Linked DNA regions of Homo sapiens: regions 2 and 3 are each linked to region 1. The links are contacts of gene promoters, found by promoter capture Hi-C in blood cells and fetal thymus (Javierre and others, 2016). All regions are on one chromosome and are shown on one strand. Each heading gives the region's core, a stretch centred on a gene start or on the middle of the fragment in contact. The rest is flanking DNA. Distances are from core to core; before and after follow the strand shown. Region 1 holds the start of OR5B21 (olfactory receptor family 5 subfamily B member 21). Region 2 overlaps SLC43A3 (solute carrier family 43 member 3). Region 3 holds the start of PRG3 (proteoglycan 3, pro eosinophil major basic protein 2).

Region 1 (4,422 bases), core at 611-3,110:
TCTCCCCCACCACACCCTGCACCAAAGAACTGTCCAGCTCATAATGTCAGTAGTGCTGAGGCTGAAAAACCAGGCTCTGGAATTGTACAGATTTTACAGTTAAGCAGTTATGTGACCTTGAGGGGCACCACATCCTTCTGTTTCCAAATATGTAAGATCAGAACACTGCCTGTCATAGATTACAGGATATTGTGTTTGCTAAATTTGAGAGTATACACACATGTCAAAAGTCAAAAGAAAAACAAGTTAAAAAAGGCTGGATAAATATAATAGAAAGTGATGCTGGTCAGAAAGTCAATTAGTACATTACTGGATAGTAATGTACCAAGCTGACTGAGCCAGTTCTTATGAAACTAGCCACATCGTGTGTGTGTGATGGTCATCCAAAAAGGACAAGCTACACTATCCCCTTCTTTTTGTGTCACCAATCAAATTGCTGCTGTTACTCTTCAAGGTAAGCTAAAGTCCAGCAGAGCTGAAGCATTTTTCTCCTTTAATTCCTGTTTTCTCCTTTTTCCTCCTCTCTTCTCACATTTTCTCCCTCACTTCTTCTGAGTCTGCTCCCACTCACTCTGCTACTAGGAGTGGGGAAAGCCTGTGAACACCTCAGGTTGAGGAACAAAAATAGGAGAGAAAGAATGCTCTAAAATGAGGACAGAAACCTGTCTCCAGGCCTGACCATCTGCAAACTCACTGTTACTCCTGAATATTTTTCATATGACAAGTCTAAGCTAATATTTTGGCCCAAAGCACAAACCTGGTAGACAAGAGGATGATAGGATGTTTGTTGTGGGATTAAAGAGCATGAAAAATATTTCCATACTTTCCTATTGATGTTCTGTTTGATTCACCAAATATTTACATACATGTGTGAGGGGCCATGGTAAGGAGAGTGGACCAGAGGGGATGAAGATAGTTACTGTCCCAAGGGGCTTAGAGCTAGGTGAAGAGTGAGTGGTTGCCCAGCTAATTGTGCAATAATCAGCCAAGACTCAAGTGCTTTGAGGAGGGAGAGAAAGGAGGACTTAACTGGAATTAGGGTCTACAGCAAAGACTTCTGATAAGGGGTGAAAAAAGACATATGCATATACACAGATACACAAAGCCATTTGTATATATCAAATTTATAGTTTTATATTAAATATATATAAATACATACTCATATTTACATATACCATACTCCCTTTCAGTTGAACTACTGTTGAGGGATTAATTTATAAAGGCTTCAAAAGTTGTGGTTAAGATCTTTGGATTTAGTATCAAACAGACCTTGAGGGCACCACCTTGTCCTGCCAACACCTTGATTTTGGCCCAGTGAAACTGATTTGAGGCTTCTGGCCTCCAGAATTTTGAGAGAATAAACTTGTGTTGTTTTAAGGAAAAATAAATTTAGAAAATCTTTAGTGAGGCTATATTATTGGAAGTAGAATGTGGAAGACAATAAGTGATGGATGTTTTTATTTTTAATAATTAAATACATACAATCTTATATCCACATCATAATTTGTATTTATATGATGTAAATGTGTTAAAGAATTCAAGATGAATGTATGAACTTTAGATTCAGAAATATAAAGGGGTGAACTTTGATTCTGACCCCTAGATAGGCTATCTTGCTCAATATTCAGCTCCCTGAGCCTTAACTTCCTTATCTGTAAGATGGGCATAATAGCACCTATCTCATATGAATTAAAAGCTATAATATAACAGAGGGTTCTAGGATGAGTGTTACACACAGTACATTCTCTCTATACATTAGTTTTCTCCTTTTTTATCATTCCATCCTCCCTTCTCATACTTTCATTGGAATTTTGTTGACGCCTCTTCTTTAATCACCAGGCTAATTCAAGCTGGCCACAATGGAGAATAGCACAGAAGTGACAGAGTTTATCCTCTTGGGATTAACAGATGACCCCAATCTTCAGATACCCCTCCTCCTGGCATTTTTATTCATCTACCTCATCACCCTGCTTGGGAATGGGGGAATGATGGTGATCATCCACTCAGACTCCCATCTCCACACTCCAATGTACTTTTTCCTCAGTAACCTCTCCCTTGTAGACTTGGGTTACTCATCAGCTGTAGCCCCCAAAACGGTGGCTGCATTGCGGTCAGGGGACAAGGCCATCTCCTACGATGGATGTGCAGCTCAGTTCTTCTTCTTTGTGGGGTTTGCCACTGTTGAGTGCTACCTCCTGGCCTCCATGGCCTATGATCGCCATGCAGCGGTATGTAGGCCTCTTCATTACACCACCACCATGACAGCAGGTGTGTGTGCCCTCCTTGCTACTGGTTCCTATGTCTCTGGCTTCCTCAATGCCTCTATCCATGCAGCAGGCACCTTCAGACTCTCCTTCTGTGGTTCTAATGAGATTAATCATTTCTTCTGTGACATTCCCCCACTCCTGGCTCTCTCATGCTCTGACACACGCATCAGCAAGTTGGTGGTCTTTGTGGCAGGCTTCAACGTCTTTTTCACCCTCCTGGTCATCCTTATTTCTTACTTCTTCATATGCATCACCATTCAGAGGATGCATTCTGCTGAAGGGCAGAAGAAAGTCTTCTCCACCTGTGCTTCCCATCTCACTGCTTTGTCCATCTTCTATGGCACAATCATCTTCATGTACTTACAGCCCAACTCCAGCCAGTCCGTGGACACAGACAAAATAGCCTCTGTGTTTTACACAGTGGTGATTCCCATGCTGAATCCCTTGATATACAGCCTTAGGAACAAAGAAGTGAAAAGTGCTCTCTGGAAAATACTCAACAAACTTTACCCCCAATATTAAATGTGAATGGGAAGTAGGCAAGCAATTAAGGGATAAACTTTCTCTCACACCTAAATGCCATCATGACTTTTAACGTTTGACTGGTTTCAGTTCTTTCTTCCCCAAGAACAGCGGTTACTTCTGCTATTAGAAGATGTAAAAAGCAGCACGTTGAAAGTCTTACTTAGAAAGATAATCTTATATTTAGTGAACAACAACATGGGACAGTTAAGCTTTTCTTGCTTTAGTTTCTTGACGTGGTTTAAAGCAGAAGATTGAAGCATACAAATGAATGTACCAAATTTTCCTCATCCTGTTTTTAATTGTAAGAATTTTTCATTCACTATTAAACTTGGTGTAAAGATTTCACCTTCATTTTTATCAACTGAACACACAGTATCTTTTTTATTCTTTTGTTCTGCGAGTTTGAAAGTTGGACTTTCTGAGGTAGACAAAGGATGTTTCAATATTTTAAATGATATTTGAGAGAAAGTTGTAATTTAAAGGACAAGGCACTAGATCGAGTCAGGTAGCTGACGATTAAATCTTTCCAACCCCTTACTCTCCCTTCTCTACCCACATTCCTATCCTACTCACTAGTCATGTGCCTTTGTAATTTCCATTCCCTTTTGCTAAATCATTGGGGAAACATTACACCTTGTTATATACAGAAATATGGGAATGCTTTAATAGATGAATTACTTCAACTTTAACCTGACTAAATACAACTTCCTTCGGAGAGCCTACACTATCTTTTATGTTTCTTGTCTCTGTCTAACATAATTACCAAAACTTCCAGAAGGTTTAGAGAAAAAAAGCAGTTTTCCCTAGAGCTATGAAAAAATATATTTGTTTTCTGAATTAAATGCTTGCATTTCTTAGCACCCTTAAGTTTGGTGAATCTATTATGAAGATATATAATAGCTTTCTGGACTGTCTTTGCTTTTACTTTTTCAATAATTCAGCTCACCTCTGGGTCTCCATTGCATTCCGGTGTTCTGTAATTAGATGCTACAAGAATAAAAAAGCCTGCCTGGAAATTTACTTCTTAGGAACAGCACGGTGACGCACAGTGCTAGTACACCTTCAGGTCTTGTTTCATGTGCTAGATGGTGTGAGCAAATGTGTGTGTGTGGGAAGGGAGTGGTGATTAATTTCACTTCTCACGTATCAACTCCTTGATGGTGTTTATAACTACAGTTAATCTAAGTCACCACAATAGATCATGATTTCAAAATCTCCCCAAAAAACCCAACAAATTAATTTTGACCTTATAGATGAAAACCAGAAATCTTGGTTGGCTAACTCAGTTGGCTTAAAATGTCAATTTAGTTTTCAGATTATCAAGCTCCATTATGTACAGGGCAGCCTCTGTCTGAGGAGGATAAATCATAAGTCTTCTGGGAAAAATTGCAAAGAAGGAGTTATGGAACATGAGAAACATGAGAATAGCTTTCTCTGGCACATGGTTGCCATCACCTGAAAAGATCAGGAGCTTCTGAGCCCAAGGCCTAGACAACCTATACCTCCCCCATTCAGCCCCCTCCCTCCCCTCTTCTTTAGCAATGAGGCCTATTCAGCAACACACAGGAAGAACAGCCTTTACAGGCCAGGATCCACTGCATATAGGAATCTTTCTCATTGAAATCTACAG
Region 2 (4,348 bases), core at 458-2,957, 1.1 Mb after region 1:
CTGGCACTACAGGTGTATGCCACCACACCCAGCTAATTAAATAAAAATTTTCTAGAGAAGGGGTGAGGGTCTCACTATGTTGTCAAGGCTGGTCTTGAACTGGGCTCAGGTGATCCTCGTGCGTCCCAAAGTGCTGGGATTGTAGGTGTGAGCCAGCATGGTTGCCTCTTTCCTTTTTTAAGGCTGAATAATATTCCATTGTGTGTATAGATCACATTATGTTTAGCTGTTCATCTGCTGATGGACCCTTAGTTTGCTTCCATCCTTTGGCTATTGTGAATAGTGCTGCTATGAACGTGGGTGTGACACTGACTTTTTCCTTCTCCTTCTGCAGCTTCTTTATGAAAAAGGCATCAGCCTCAGGGCCTCCTTCATCTTCATCTCTGTCTGCAGTACCTGGCATGTAGCACGCACTTTCCTCCTGATGCCCCGGGGGCACATCCCATACCCACTGCCCCCCAACTACAGCTATGGGTAAGGACTATCTGGTGATTGTGGGCCAGAGCCCCTCATTGGCCCTAGGGTGGGATGGACAGGGTAAAGCAAACCTATCACAGGAGAGGAGGAGGACTGGAGCAGTGCATCTGTTAGCTATTGCTGCATAACAAACTATCTCAAAACTCAGCAGCCTAAAATGTTAAGCATTTATTATTTTTCACAAGTCTGTGGGTAGCTGGCTAGTTCCGCTGATCAGGGCCAGATGTAGATGATTTTGACAGGGCTCATTCATACATCTGATCATTTGGAGGATTACATGGGGGCTGGCTATGCTAGGATGGCCTCACTCACATAGGTTTGGAGTGACAGGGATGCCTGGGTCACGTGGCTGTCATCCTCCAGCAAGCCAGCGTGGGCTCATTCACACCGTGATTTCAGGGTTCTGAAAGAGTGCAGAAATGCACAAGCGTTCTTGAGATTTAAGCTTGGAATTGGCACAGCCACTTCTGCTGCATTCTTTTGGCTGAAGCAGTTCACAAGGCTGGCCCAGATTCAGGGCATGGGGAAATAGAGCTGCAGTCTCATTCAAATTGGGGGAAATACAGAGGAGGTGAAGAAATGTGATCATTTTTGCAGTCATTTGCCACAAGGAGTAGAGGAAGGGCATTCCTTTGCTGCTCACTTACTAATTGTCAGACCCCATGTGCTCTCTGATTTCATCCTCACAATAATCCTCTGAGATATCCTTATCTCCATTTTCTAAATGCAAAAAATGAGGCTCAGAAGGGTTAAGTCTGAGCCATCTTTCTGTTGCTAGGAAGAGGCAGAGCTGGGATTTGAACCTGGGCCTGCCCTACTCTTTTCATGCTTCCTAAACTTTGCTGCTTATTAGAATCACTAGATTCACATAGAGATCTTAGAAAAGGAAGCCTGGCTCTCACCTCCAGACATTCTGATTTAACTGGTCTGGTCTGCAACCTGGGCATCAGAGTGGCTAAAAGGTGATTCCAAAGTGCGGTGGAATGTGGGATTCACCATGCTATTCCCTCCAGTCTGAGTCTCAGGTTCGGCTCACAGTCCTTGGCCTTGCTGGTGGGGCTTTTGTTTCCATAGCCTGTGCCCTGGGAATGGCACCACAAAGGAAGAGAAGGAAACAGCTGAGCATGAAAACAGGGAGCTACAGTCAAAGGAGTTCCTTTCAGCGAAGGAAGGTGAGCCCTGCTGGCTAACCCATCTCTCCTCCAGACCCAAGCCTCTCCTTGTGCCTTTCCTGGCCCCTCACCTCCAGAGCTCCCCCAGGGACCCAGAATCAGGAAAGGCAGGACAGAAAAAGGGCCTTAGGCATCTTCCCAACCCTCTCACTTAATGGAGGGTCCAGGGCTTTCGTCTCTTTTCTGTCCCTCTTTTCTCTATTTCGCATCCTATCACTTCCCCACCCCTTGAAGCCCGCCTGCCATGGGTTGCCTTCCCTTCCCCCCACTCCTCGGTTCTGCCCTCTTCTGTGATGCCATTGCACTAAGTCTGGTACAGTGCCCCCATTTCTCCAGGTCTCCTGGGTCCGCCCTCTCTTATTGTCCCAACTCTATCACTGCTTCCTTTCCTTCCTCTCTGTTCTGCGTCTTTGGTTACACACATCACAAACCGCAGCTAGCTACAGTAGAAATAAGAACGGGGTGGGAGAGGAGATGGGAGATGCAGGTCGAAGGACAAAAAGGAGCAGATGAGCAGGATGAACAGGCCTAGAGATCTAATGCACAGCACGAAGACTGTAGGTCATCAAACTGCATTGTGTTTGGGACTTTCCTAAACAAGTAGATTTTAACTGCTCTTGTCACAAAACAGGTAGAAATGTGAGATGATGGATATGTTAATTTGCTTAACTGTAGTAACCATCTTAGTAGCTATATGTATCCTATGACCTCATATTGTATATCTTAAATATACAGAATAAAATTGATTTTTTTGTTTTTATTTTTACCATCTGACAATTGGATCCAAAACATGTATTTATTTATTTATTTTAAAGAAAGAAGAATAGGGTTCTGGGAAGCTTCCAAAATCAAGGGAGGACATTGAACTTGCCAGGGTGTAGGACCTATTTTAGATTAAGTCCATCCTAATCTAAACTCATGGCCGGTCTGCCTTGTTAGGAGGAACCATCTCATTGGTTAACCTTGAGAGAGGAACAGAACACTGAATTCATGGTCCCATCTGGACCATGAAGATTAGGGTAGAGGAAGATTTCCCAAAGAAACTCAGGATACTGGTATCAAAAGAAAGGGAGGTGCTGAGGAGCAGGTTAGAACAGAGTATCCACACTCATTCTCCTCTCCCTTCTGACTTTCTCCTCTCCTTGTCGTTCCTTTCACCTTTCTCGCTGAGAAAGATCAGGAAGGTATTACTGCAAGAAGTGTCATTGACCAGGCTGTGAGAGACAGATCGGATTTCAATAGAGAAGAACACAGAGGGTCATCCAAGGTGGTAGGGCCAGCATGACAAAGCAGGGAGGTGGGGATGTGTGAGTCCGAGGCAGGTGCAGAGCACGCCGGGTGAGTTCTGGGAGCCAAGGGTAGAAGGTGGGCCCGGATCTGAAATGTTCCATTGAAGCCTCCACACTCCCCATCCTACCTGTCCACTTTCCTCGTAATTCACGCCCAGATCCTCCTCTCCCCATTAGAGACCCCAGGGGCAGGGCAGAAGCAGGAACTCCGCTCCTTCTGGAGCTACGCTTTCTCTCGGCGCTTTGCCTGGCACCTGGTGTGGCTGTCTGTGATACAGTTGTGGCACTACCTCTTCATTGGCACTCTCAACTCCTTGCTGACCAACATGGCCGGTGGGGACATGGCACGAGGTATGTGGTAGGGCTGGGAGGTAGCCCATCTGCATGTCCCAGCTGGGAACACAGAGCCTCCCAGCAGGGCTGTACACACCAGAGGAGGGTCTGATGGTGTGGGGAGGAGGGACATGCAGACAAGGGTAAGGTGGGAGAGTCCCTGCCTGGAAGGGAGTTTTGGAAACTTCTCATCAACCAACCTCTCTCTTCCTTCTGCAGTCAGCACCTACACAAATGCCTTTGCCTTCACTCAGTTCGGAGTGCTGTGTGCCCCCTGGAATGGCCTGCTCATGGACCGGCTTAAACAGAAGTACCAGAAGGAAGCAAGAAAGACAGGTGAGATGCGGGGGAGGGCAGGGGCTGGTCAGGGAACCAGGAAGGGAGGTCTTCATTTACCCCATGACATCTTCTCTCGCTCTTTTTTTTTTTTTTTTTTTTTTTTTTGTGATAGAGTCTTACTCTGTTGCCCAGGCTGGAGTGCAGTGGTGTGATCTCAGATCATTGCAGCCTGCACCTCCTGGGTTCAAGAGATTCTCCTGCCTCAGCCTCCCAAGTAGCTGGGATTACAGGCGTGTGCCACCATCCCCCACTAATTTTTGTCTTTTTAGTAGAGACGGGGTTTCACCATGTCAGGCTGGTCTTGAACTCCTGACCTCGGGTGATCTGCCCGCCTCAGCCTCCCAAAATGCTGGGATAACAGGCGTGAAGCACCATGCCTGGTCTTCTCTTTTGTTCTTAACCCTGTCTAGTTGCACTCATTCATTCATTAAAACACTAGTCACTGAGTGATAGTTATGTGTCAGCCATGGTGCCAGACACCAGGGATTCAATGACAGACAAGATAGATGTGTTCTTTTTCTCAAGGTGTTCTCAGTCTAGAGGGTGGAGAAAGGCAGGTAGTCAGGCAGTTATAATCCGTGAAGCAAACCCACAGGGGGCCATGGGGGGCACAAAGAAGCGCACATAATCTGTTCTAGGTGAGGATGGGATTGGTGTCAGGGAAGGCTTCCTGGAGGGAATGGCACCTAAGCCAAGACCTGAAGGATGAGTAAGGAGGGAGGAGATGAAGAGGCGGGG
Region 3 (4,269 bases), core at 569-3,068, 1.1 Mb after region 1:
ATCCCACAAGGATGCCTCTGAGTTCACCCTGACAAGTCCACTAGCTCTTGGCAGAGACATCTGGCAAATTCAAGGCTTGAGACATGCTGGCCTCTCTTTAAAGTGCAGCAAATTTTGTCTAGAGCTTGGTCAGTTAAAATTTTGATGTTTTGTTTTGCATTAATTTCAATTTTTAAGAAATGTTGCATTAAAATGTTATTTATCTTGAATAGTAAATTTCTTAGTGTCCCCTTAATTTCTTAGTGTGTCTGAGTTGAGAGCCTCCCCTGCCTGATTCTAGTCCAGACCCTGGGGTGACAGAAGACTGGTGGGAGATGGGAGGTGAGGAGGGGAGTGTTGGTTGGAGAGGATGATCTACAGAGTGCTGGAGAGACTCTGTATGGAGCTTTTCATGCTGCCTGTTTGCCAGCCCTGAAGCTATGCCTTGAGGTTGGGCAAGGTGGCATATCCTAGATCAGAGATCCTCAACTGGGGCCATTTTTCTCCCCAGAGGACATTTGGAAACATGTGGAGACATTTTTGATCATCTGCGGGGGTGGGGAGAGGGGCTACTGACATCTGGTGAGTAGAGACCAGAGGGACCATTAAACTTTCTACAACGCCCAGGACAGCCCCTCCACAATAAAGAGTTATTTGACCTCACATATTAATAGCACAAAGTTGAGGAACCTTGATCTAGATCCACAGCACAGAAGAAAGGATGTAGATTTTTCACACATTAAAGATGAGAAAGCTTGTGCCTGTAATCCCTGTGACTCAGGAGGCTGTGGCAGGAGGATTACTTGAGCCCAGGAATTCAGGGTTACAGTGAACTATCATCGCAGCACTGCACTCCAGCCTGGGTGACAGAGCAAGATTTTGTCTCTTAAAAAAAAAAAAGATGAGGACAGGCACAGTGGCTCATGCCTGTAATCCCAGCATTTTGGGAGGCCGAAGTGGGTGGATCACGAGGTCAGGAGTTCAAGACCAGCCTGGCCAGCATAGTGAAACCCCATCTCTACTAAAAATACAAAAAATTAGCCAGCTACTTGGGAGGCTGAGGCAGGAGAAGCGCTTGAACCCGGGAGGTGGAGCTTGCAGTGAGCCAAAATCTTGCCATTGCACTCCAGCCTGGGCGACAGAGCAAGACTCCGTCTCAAAAAGAAAAAAAAAAAAGATGAGAAAGAGGAAGGGAGAGAAAAAAGAGAGAGAGGAAAGAAAGAGAGAAGGTTTTGGAGTCAAAAAGACTTAGAAATTCCAGTTCTTCCACTTCCCATGGAACCTTGGCAAGTTGCCTTCTCTCTTTCTCTGAATCTCACATTTTGCCTCTGTGAAGTAGGGGTGGTACCTGGTGGAGATGATGCGGAGATGAGGGTGAGGGGTGTGTTGCACACTATGCCCCTAGGATGGGTGAGAGCTTGGGAGCACTGAACCTCCCTTTCCCCTCTTGTTTCTTCCCCCCATTGTCTCCCACCAGCTCCCTGGGATCTCCACTTCACTCTCTGGGATTCCACCAGCAGGAGGCTACTCCTGGAGTTAAGGCGTGTTGTTCAGACTGGGGCATTTTAGGGGGCATAAATAATAATTATGCCTGGACAATGGACATAACATCTAGGGCCTTCTGAAGCAAACCAGGGTGTGGGGTACCCAAACAAGGCAGTAGGCCCCAGGAGGCAGGTCCCTGCAGTCCCAGCAGAGAGCAGGGCACAGGGTTGAGAAGACTGAGCAAACTTCATTATCAGCTCCTTTGTCCCCCACTCTGTCCTGGAGCAATCATTCTGGCCTCTTCCCACTTCCCCAAAAACCCAGTATAAAGGCTGCTTCTGGCCCCTGAAGCCAGAGGCACTGAGAGTGGAGGTCTCAGACTCTTGGAAGGTGAGTTCTTTTCTGGCTGCCCAGGCAGGACCAGTGTAGGCCCTGGGAAGAAGCAGCACCTCATAGGGCAAACACGTAGGAGGCCTGTCCTTAGGAACATCATAGCTAAGCAGACCTGTCCCCGCAGGGGCAGGAGTCTGGGCTAAGGGTGATACTGGAGAGCAGCAACGGAGACTGGAAGACAAATGAAATTTGGTACCTGAGTTATCCCTCCCACCATTCCTTTTCTAGACTCTCCAGCTCAGGGTCTGTTCATGGCAAGAGGAGAAAGCAATCTTGTTTGCTCTTTAATCAAACAATTAAACAAATATTCCCTCTATACTATGTGCCAGGGGCTATACTAGACACACAAAGACAGCCCCAAGAAGGACGGTGGAGTAGTGTCCTCGCTAAAAGACAGTAGATATGCAATGCCTCTTGCTCCTGCCCTTTCTCCTGCTGGGAACAGTTTCTGCTCTTCATCTGGGTAAGTCTCTCCCTTCCCTCCTCATGCGTCTTTCCCTTTTTTCCTTTTTCCTACACTCCCCTCCCCCCGCTTTTATTTGCACTCATGAGGCCAGGACCACAGCCTTCCCTCTTTAGCTGATACAGCTCATCTCCGGTAAGATATCACTTGGACTCAGAACTGTAACCTGGAACTTTCTCTTTTTTGTTTGATTTTTTTTTGTTGTTGTTGTTTTTGTTTTTTTTTTTGTTTGTTTTTTGTTTTGTTTTGAGACGGAGTCTCGCTCTGTTGCCCAGGCTGGAGTGCAGTGGCGCGATCTCGGCTCACCACAAACTCCGCCTCCCGGGTTCAAGCAATTCTTCTGCCTCAGCCTCCTGAGTAGCTGGGACTACAGGCACATGCCACCACGCCTGGCTAATCTTTGTATTTTTAGTAGAGATGGGGTTTCACCATATTTGCCAGGCTGGTCTCAAACTCCTAACCTTGTGATTCGCCCGCCCCGGCCTCCCAAAGTGCTGGGATTACAGGCGTGAGCCACCGCACCCGGCAAACTGTAACCTGAACTTTCAGAAGGAAAAACCACCCACCTGTTAAGATGAAGGGCTGGTGACTGCCCCAGGCTTCTCACACGTGCTTTCTCCCACCTTCAAAACACACACTCGTGGTGTCGGCCAGAAGTCAGGTTCTTGTCCATTTGTGGGTGTGACCCGAGAGATCTCTCCTTACCTAACACCAAGGAAATCCTCCAGTCTTGTCTTCAGGTGGAATTCCTAGGAAAGCTCGAGCGACGTTGCTGGAGCTGTCCACGGTGCTGGAACTAGGAAGCTCTTGACCTGATGGCAGGTTACCTCTTCTTCCCAGAGAATGATGCCCCCCATCTGGAGAGCCTAGAGACACAGGCAGACCTAGGCCAGGATCTGGATAGTTCAAAGGAGCAGGAGAGAGACTTGGCTCTGACGGAGGAGGTGATTCAGGCAGAGGGAGAGGAGGTCAAGGCTTCTGCCTGTCAAGACAACTTTGAGGATGAGGAAGCCATGGAGTCGGACCCAGCTGCCTTAGACAAGGACTTCCAGTGCCCCAGGGAAGAAGACATTGTTGAAGTGCAGGGAAGTCCAAGGTGCAAGATCTGCCGCTACCTATTGGTGCGGACTCCTAAAACTTTTGCAGAAGCTCAGGTAAGTAGTAGGGAGGCTACTGCGGAGGACCTGGGGGAAAAGAGAGTACATTCAGTCTTCTGTTCCCTATTCATTTAGGCTAGTGGTTCTCAAAGCCTCGCATGCATCAGAATCACCTGGAGTTGTTGTTAAAACACAGCTTTCTGGGCCTCACCTGCACGACTTCTGATTTAGGAGGGCTGAGGTGAAGCCTGAGAATTTGCATTTACAACAAATCCCCAGGTGATGATGATATTGTTGGTCTGGGGAGAACCACCGATTTAAACAAAAGGCTTTGGTGTTAGAAACGCCTGTGTTAAATTCTGGTTCTGCCTTTTATTAGCTGTGTTACCTGGGCAAGTTGCTTTGCCTTTCAAAGCTTTAGCACCTTCATTTGTAAAACGAAGATATATAGCACCAACTTCTTAGAGTTGTGGTGAGCATTAAATGAGATAATACATGAAAAGTGTTTGGAATAGTCACTGGGCTGTAATAAACTCTCAATAAGCGGTGGTTATAATTATTATGAGTATTATCATTTCCTGTAGGATTGTCCTGACAGCTAATTAAGAAGCAAAAGATAGGATTAAGGGAGGCAAGTAGGTTTATTTTTAACCTGAAAAGGGATGCCGGGCTCTTGCCTGGAGACTCAGAAACTTGAAATAAATGAGAGGGAATTCTCTACTTTGTTTCCGTCTGCAGAATGTCTGCAGCAGATGCTACGGAGGCAACCTTGTCTCTATCCATGACTTCAACTTCAACTATCGCATTCAGTGCTGCACTAGCACAGTCAACCAAGCCCAGGTCTGGATTGGA

What was found. The method cuts DNA at HindIII sites, captures the fragments that hold promoters and counts their contacts. A CHiCAGO score of 5 or more calls a contact.
Region 2: a fragment that was not itself captured here is called in contact with the fragment with the promoter of OR5B21 in region 1 in 1 of 17 cell types (total CD8 T cells); the score reaches 5.2 in total CD8 T cells.
Region 3: the fragment with the promoter of PRG3 here is called in contact with the fragment with the promoter of OR5B21 in region 1 in 12 of 17 cell types (non-activated CD4 T cells, total CD4 T cells, total B cells and 9 more); the score reaches 12.5 in non-activated CD4 T cells.

What each region holds. Positions count from the first base shown.
Region 1 is chr11:58,505,543-58,509,964 of GRCh38, reverse strand. It overlaps OR5B21 (olfactory receptor family 5 subfamily B member 21), which reads left to right and starts at 1,860. Exons shown (of 1, transcript NM_001005218.3): 1 at 1,860-3,158. The coding sequence starts at 1,860. The coding sequence ends at 2,789. The region is part of intron 2 of LOC105369313 (a long non-coding RNA gene); the gene reads left to right. The HindIII fragment of the contact is 6,996 bases long and covers 1-3,003 here.
Region 2 is chr11:57,413,874-57,418,221 of GRCh38, reverse strand. SLC43A3 (solute carrier family 43 member 3) reads left to right here. Exons shown (of 14, transcript NM_199329.3): 8 at 335-474; 9 at 1,552-1,649; 10 at 3,116-3,289; 11 at 3,491-3,607. Among named protein-coding and RNA genes, the nearest start is that of SLC43A3, 11 kb to the left of the region's middle. RefSeq lists an enhancer at 3,145-3,645. The HindIII fragment of the contact is 1,566 bases long and covers 925-2,490 here.
Region 3 is chr11:57,378,699-57,382,967 of GRCh38, reverse strand. It overlaps PRG3 (proteoglycan 3, pro eosinophil major basic protein 2), which reads left to right and starts at 1,818. Exons shown (of 6, transcript NM_006093.4): 1 at 1,818-1,854; 2 at 2,187-2,320; 3 at 3,161-3,474; 4 at 4,156-4,269. The coding sequence starts at 2,260. RefSeq lists an enhancer at 2,430-3,629. The HindIII fragment of the contact is 3,099 bases long and covers 736-3,834 here.